Linked DNA regions of Homo sapiens: region 1 is linked to region 2. The links are contacts of gene promoters, found by promoter capture Hi-C in blood cells and fetal thymus (Javierre and others, 2016). All regions are on one chromosome and are shown on one strand. Each heading gives the region's core, a stretch centred on a gene start or on the middle of the fragment in contact. The rest is flanking DNA. Distances are from core to core; before and after follow the strand shown.

The links. Contacts are between HindIII fragments. The CHiCAGO score rates a contact against its expected background, and 5 or more counts as called.
Region 1: a fragment that was not itself captured here is called in contact with the fragment with the promoter of PLXNB3 in region 2 in 1 of 17 cell types (activated CD4 T cells); the score reaches 5.5 in activated CD4 T cells.

Annotation. Positions count from the first base shown.
Region 1 is chrX:154,056,216-154,059,788 of GRCh38, reverse strand. The region is part of intron 1 of MECP2 (methyl-CpG binding protein 2); the gene reads left to right. Among named protein-coding and RNA genes, the nearest start is that of MIR718, 38 kb to the right of the region's middle. The HindIII fragment of the contact is 851 bases long and covers 1,459-2,309 here.
Region 2 is chrX:153,762,468-153,765,880 of GRCh38, reverse strand. PLXNB3 (plexin B3) reads right to left here and starts at 1,632. Exons shown (of 36, transcript NM_005393.3): 1 at 1,577-1,632; 2 at 301-410. The coding sequence starts at 345. It overlaps PLXNB3-AS1 (PLXNB3 antisense RNA 1), which reads left to right. Exons shown (of 3, transcript NR_199696.1): 2 at 2,032-2,171. The HindIII fragment of the contact is 7,823 bases long and covers 1-2,588 here.

The DNA of each region.
Region 1 (3,573 bases), core at 635-3,134, 290 kb before region 2:
TTCTGGCATGTTGCTCTTTCCCTAATGGCTTTATGAGCTTCTTGAACACCAAAGCATGTGTGACTTCCTCACGCCTTCCCCTGTATAGTATAGCACCCCTAACTGTATGTGTAAGGAGAAGGAGTGAGCAATTGATGGCGTCCCCCTGGATCTCCAAGGGAATGGGAAGGGGCAGGGTTTCTGGATTCAGTCATGTGGAATCTGGTCGTTGGTGTCTAAATGTGCCTGTTACTTGTGCCCAATGTCCAGGTTCACCAGGAGGCTTAGCCTGCTCATTTCCCTGCTAGTAGCTATATTTTGGGAGAGCATTTTTTATGCTCTAATTGAACTTTGTGGGTCTCAGCAATTTGAACAATGTTTTGTTTTTCTTCTGGTCAGGTTACAAAGGAAAGAAAAGGAATCTGGTGTTGTAGGAGGTGGTGTGTTGTGTAATTACTTGTTTTTTTTTTTTAAGTTTTTTTATATTTTTGCAACAAGGCAAGTTTTCTTTGAATAAATAATGCTGGGAGCTTATCACATAGAAGGCATATGTGTTGTACTCAGTACATTCTGAATTATCTGGGTTTATTTTTATCTCTTGAATTCACTTATAAACAATTCAAAGGCTGCTTTTTTAGCTAACAGAAATAGGAAGAGAATCTCAGAATCTGTTTTGTCATTTTTTCAATGGGTTGAGTTATAGTGATTATGCTAACTCGGTGGAAAAGCAGTGTAGTGAGTAAACCCCACATACGGCATATCATGAACATTTTGTTGCTTTTTTGGCTTCTGACCATCTTCATACCTTTTTTTGTGTTAAAAGTCTCCCCATTGTGTATATCTTAGTAAGAGGCAGGTGGACCCTAGTTTCTACCTAAGAAAACCTGAAGATGGGGTTGGGGGCCTGTGGTGTACTTCCTTCTCATGCTGTCCATGACCACTGCAGTGGCTTTGTAAGGATCCAGGACCCAGGGCCCCTCAGTGGGTGTCTTCCATTTCTCAAGATTGCCTCTTGGTTGTGAGATGACGGTTGCTGCTCTAGTCATTGCATCCACTCCTCCAGGTAGGAAGAAAGAGGTCATAGGGGAAAGGCAAAATGGCACTTGACATCTTAACTTCTAGGCCCATTCAATATTTCCATTTCCATCTTCACACCCATCATCTTGTCCTAGGGAACAAACAGCACCAGCAGCTCAGTAGCTATAACAGCAATTATTATTTCTCACACATGGGTCTGGGTCAGCTGCAAGATGGGATTCAGATCTGTTCTCAAGCCTGTCGTTCCAGGACCCAGGAGGGAGAAGCAGCTGCCAGGGGAAGTCTCTTCGTAGGCGGAGGTCAGGAGTCCAAGAGGAGTGAGCAGAGTCACAGAAGCCTCTTAAAGCCTCTTCTTCCCCCATCCCATCAACACGTGAGCAAGCCCAGAGTCAGTGGGTGGGAGGTGTGCTCCGCCCATAGTCAGTAGAACAAGAGCAAGCTTGAAAGAGAACGATGAACAGGAGTGCACTCGGCCACTGTCTCCTTAGCCATAACGTAGTCCCATGGTCTGCTGGGAAGCGGGGAATAACTCTCCTTAGCTGAGCGCAGGGTCTCATTAGTAAGGCAGATGGAGAACATGGATGTTGGGGGACAACTGGCAGTGCCTGCCACAGGGGAATGGATATATTCCCTCCCCTTGCTCTCTGGAAACTAGGGGATGGCGATGAAGCCTAGGTTTGGCCAAACCCATTCTGCCTTCAGGGACTTTGACTCTTGAGGGACAGTGAGGGATTAGTCATGGTGGTGGCAGTTGAGTCACAAAACCAGCAGTGGTGGCTAATGTCCAGTGATGACATGCAACAGTGCCCAGGGTGGGTGTCCCAACCAGCAGGTCCCTGCAGTATAACCTTGGCTGTGTTTGCAGTGGTGCAGCCTCTATTCCTGCTGCTTTTCTGAGCCTAGTTCTCTAGTTCTCTCTCCATTTCCAGATCTGCTGCCCAAGAACTCCTTTGTGATTGAATTTAACCAGAGTTGATTTCTGTTGCTTGAAACTCAGGACCTTGATGCAGTGTGCAGGGTCTGGGCAAGGTAAAAACACACTTTCATGATTTCGCCTCAAGTATAGTAGATGAGCTTAGGCTTTTTGAGCCAGGTAGCCTTGGGATTAATTCTCAGCTCTTGCACCTAGCAGGTGACCTCAGCAATCAAGTCACTTGCCCTCCTTGAGCCTCAGTGTTGCCCTCAGTTAAACATTGCTCTCGTGTGTTGCTGAGCATTCAGTGAGATTGTATATAAAGTGATCATTGTGAAGGTATTGGGACATAATTTGGGAAAGCGTCCTGGTCTAAGCTTTTGATTGGCTCTCCATCATTTGGGTAATGGGATAGTGATTTAGGAGTATCATAGCAGCTCAAGGGGCCCTTCTGGAAAGGGTATGAGGAAGGTCAGGGACAAGTCTGAAATGAATCATCCTAGGCTTAATGCCTGTGACTGGGCAGTGGGTACAATTATCTCAGGCTAGTCAGTAGTCATTTATTGTGAGAATACATGGGCAGATTTTTTAATTTCCTTCTCAGTCTAGACTTGAATGCAAACAGTTCTTATTGCTAACTTACCACTAGTCACCACTAATGAACAAAGACTATGAACAGGAAATTCATAAAAGAAGAGATACAGATGGCCAATGAAGATAGGAAAAGAGTTCTGCCTGCTGGTAATCAAAGAGATGCAAACGAGAACAAAAATGATGCCTTTTCACCTACCAAATTTGTCAAGATTAAAAAGAAAGCAAAGAGCCAGCGTCAGCTGATGTTCATACCTGCACCTGCTCGGTAGCTTGCTAATGTTCTGCCTGCTCCACACGCCAGGCCAGCCTCCACGGCGCAGCCAGGTGAGGCCTTTCCTTGTATACAGGCACGTTTGGATTCACTGTTGCATAAGTGAGACATGTGCATGCTTCACAATTCAGGAAGTGCAAACTCCAGAGTGATGCAAGGTCTGAGTGTCCCTGCTGCCCTGGTCTCCCAGCTGCCTAGGCCTCTCTTCAGGGAACGGCTGCATCCAGGGTCTTGTCTGTGTCTTTTGAGGTGTTCTATGTACACGCAGACACATCTAAACCTATTTTTATTTTCCCTGCACCTGCTTGGGCTACTGTAAGCTGTTAAATTTTTTTTTCTAGGAATTTGTCCATTTTGTCTGACTAGCATAAAGTTGTTCATGTTATAGTTTATACATTTGCAACATCTGTAATTATGTCTGCTTTTTCATTCCTAGTGTTTGTTGTTTACTTGTACCTTCTCCCGTTTTTCCTTGTCTTGGTAAAAGCTCATTAGGTTCATTGGTCTTACAAGAAGCAGACATGTAGGCATTATTGCCCTGTATTACTCTGTGTCTCTTTTCTAGTTCATTAAATTCTGCTTTTGCTTTTATCTTTATTATTTTTTCTATGGTCTTAGAGTACATTCTCTGTGTTTTGTTGTTGTTGTTGTTGTTGTTTGTTTTTTGTTTTGAGAGAGAGAGTCTTGCTCTGTCGCCCAGGCTGGAGTGCAGTAGTGCAATCTCAGCTCACTGCAACCTCCACCTCCTGGGTTCAAGTGATTCTCGTGCCTCAACCTC
Region 2 (3,413 bases), core at 383-2,882:
TCTGGCCCCTCCTGCCCTCCACAGAGAGATGCTGCCCTGGGTGTGTGGTCACATGCCGACCAGGAGTGGGGCCGCTGCGACTCAGGGCAGAGCAGCGCCTGGAGGAAGGCCCAGGAGCCGCTTATCTCAGGAACACAGGCAGGAAGAGCACGGACACTTCCTGCGGACCCCGGGCTATCTGGGGCAGTGTCTGCCATGAGGGAGGCTGCAGCCTGTATGTCCTGGGCCTGGCCACAGCCATCCTGCCCTACCCTGCCCCTCCCAGGAACATTTCTGGGGACACCGGGCCTGGGCACTTACCATGAAGTGGTGCAGCAGAGGGGTCTCCTGGGCGGCGTGGCACATACGCTCAGTTCAGCTGCCCCAGGGCAGTGGCGATGGGCATGAGATGGCTGCGGGGGGGCATTGTCCTGAGTGGGAGGGAGACAGTCGAGGCTCAGCCCCATTCGAGCTGGCCTGGGGAAGGAGGGGCGGCGGTGGGGGTGGCGCCCAGGGCCTAGCGACCGGGCTCCCTCACAGCTGGCAGCTTTGTCAATAGTGGCCAGGCCAAGGCAGCCCTGCCTCCACCACAACAATGTTCCCTCTGTCCAGAGGCCAGGCCAGGGCCCCACTCGCTAGTGCTGTCACCCCCACTGGGCTGTTCTGGACAGGGGGCTCCTTGCCACTTCCCACCCTCAGGGAGCCACCCCCGGGATCCGGGGACAAAGGGCCGGGGTTTCCTCCAGCCAGCCCTCCCCCTCTGGCCCTGCAACCCCTGTGTCACTAAGCATGCCCCTCCCTGGCTCCCCGGGTCCCTGTGAAGGGCACGGGGTGGACCTTGGAGCCCCTGCAAATGCCGGCTGGTAGCCTTGGGGCCTGGGTGAAGTGCCAGTCCTGGCCCTCAATGCCTGCCTTTGTCCAAAAGATCTTCCTCCACACCCCCAGCCCAGCCCTGCCCCTGGGGACTGGTGAAGTGGTGCCAGGTACAGCATGGTGGCAGCGAGCAGGACCACGGGAGGAGGCTGCTTGAGATGGGCTGAGGCAGAGGGTCCACAGGCCGGGGCTGTCCACCCCACCCTCTGAAGCACCGTCCTGCTGGCCTAGATGCCATCCATGCAGGGGATGGGGAAGGGAGGGGCACCTAGCAGCTAGACCCCCTGTCACCCTCACAGGCCACCCTGGCCAGTGGCACAGGAGCAGGTGCACTGGGGATGGGGTCTCTGCCTCCCCCACAGCACGGCAGCAGTAGGCTCCAGGGCAAGGTGGCAGTGGGCTGCTGTCACCTGGCTGGGCCAGTTGGGTGGCTGTGGGGGTGGGGAGCCAGGCGGGCAGCCTCTCTACCCTGTACCCTGCCCGAGGCTGGCGTTGGCTTTCCCATTTCGGGGAAGAAACATGGTTCCCCACCTCCTAACCCCAGGGCTACCACTTGGGGGACACCGTGCTCCCAGACACCTAGTGCCGTCGTCAGGCTGGGCCGACACCCGAGCGCTCTTGCCTGACCCCAGCCAGTTGGCCCTGAGACCCTGATGCCTTGCCCTGAGGCTGGTAGCCCCTGCACCCCAAGCCCAAGCCCAAGCCTGCCCCAGCTCTTGCCTACCTGGTGGGCCACCGGCGAGGGCCAAGTAGCAGCTGGCGGTGCCAGGAGCACGTCTCACAGAGCCCCAGCCTCCCTCCCCACAATGCAATCGTGCCCAGTCCGACTCATCCCAACAAGCCCGGCCAGGCAGCCCAGCCTCTCTCCGCCCGCCCCTTTGCCCAATGGCACAGGGCAGGATGTTGCTGCCCTCTGCTGGCCGCAGCGGGCATGATGGAGTACTGACCGTGGGCACCTGGCAGGTGAGAGACGGCAGCGCCCTCCTATTGGGTGGGCATTCCATAACCTGGCACGAAGCACCTACTGGATGCCAGGCTTGGGCTTGGCACTGGCACCATCCAGAAACAAACACAGGTTGGGAAACTGAGGCACAGGAGGTTAGGAAACTTGAATAAAGTCACACAGCTAGTATGTGGCAAGGCTGAGTCAATCACAGGGCCCCTTCACTTAACCGTCAGGCTACATGACCTTGAACCATGAACCTTGGCAGGCGTTGGGCAGGAGATGGAGCTGAGGCCTACCCCAGGCCAGGCCTGGACGTGACATGCCCACGTGGCGTTGAGGAAAAACCAGTGTTTCCCACCGACTGGAACACAAGGTTGGTCAAGGGCCGTCTCCCAGGGTGTGGCGGAGGTCAGCAAATCAGGTGGGGTCTTTGTGGCCAGGCTTGAGAACTTGAACTTGTCTCGCCATGGGCAACTGCAAGCTGGTGGCACTGGGGCAGAGAATGTGGGGAGGCCTGGTCCAGTGGTGGTCATGGGCATGGAGAGAGGCGGGCGCGTTCTAGAGGCGCTCTGGGGAGGCAGCATTCTGAAGACTGTGCGTTGGACCCAGGGCAGGAGGCGAAGGCAGGAGAATCCAGGCGACCCTGGGGCTTTTCTGCTGGGGCACTGTTCCCCCTGTGGCAGGGCCATCCACAGAGGGGCTGGCGGAAGTGGGAGGACGGTAAGACTGAGGGGCCCATGAGGGAGGAGGAAATGGTGATGGGGCTGGGGAGGCCTGGGGGTGAGAAGCTTGGCTCAGGTGGCTGGAGCCCTGGGGGCGGCCAGGGTATAGGGCCAGGTGTTGGCCCTGGAGCTCAAAGGCCCAGCAGACTCGGGGTATGGGTGCTTCCCTGAGCAGCTGTGTCATTCTTTCCAACCTGCATGGAGAGAAATGGGGCACAGAGGTGGGTAACTTGCCCAGGGCCATGACCTGACGTCGTTTCTTCAGAGTGCATTCCACAGAGATGGGATTTGAACCTGGGCATTCTGGCACGGGCCACGCTCTGGACCACTGGGCCCCAGATCCACAGCTTCTCACCTGCAGCCGCTGAGGATGTGGAGGCAGACCAGGCAGGCCCGTGGGAAGGACCACCAAAAAGCGAGTGAGCAGCCGGCGAGGGGTCTCTCCCCAACAGGAAGGCCAGGCAGCCTTGAAGGAGCCAGGGAGGGATTTAGAAGCTCCAGGAGGGGAGGCTTGGGGGAGCCAGCTGGCCTCTCTCCCTCTCCCTGTCCTTCCCCCCATGCCTACCCCAACACACACACACATGTCCTTGCTGGCCCCGGATGAGACAGACGCCTGCAATCTGGCATGGGGAATGGGTTTCTCCTTCCTTTCCACAGAAGAAAATAAATCAGGCTGGGCGTCGTGGCTCCCGCCTGTAATCCCAGCACTTTGGGAGCCTAAGGCAGCAGGATCACTTGGGCCCAGGAGTTCTAGACCAGCATGGGCAACATAGTGAGACCCCCATCTCTATAAAAAAATTTAAAAATTAGCCAGGCATGGTGGTGCGAGCCTGTAGTCCCAGCTACTTGGGAGGCTGAAGTGGGAGGATCGCCTGAGCCTGGGAGTTGGTGCC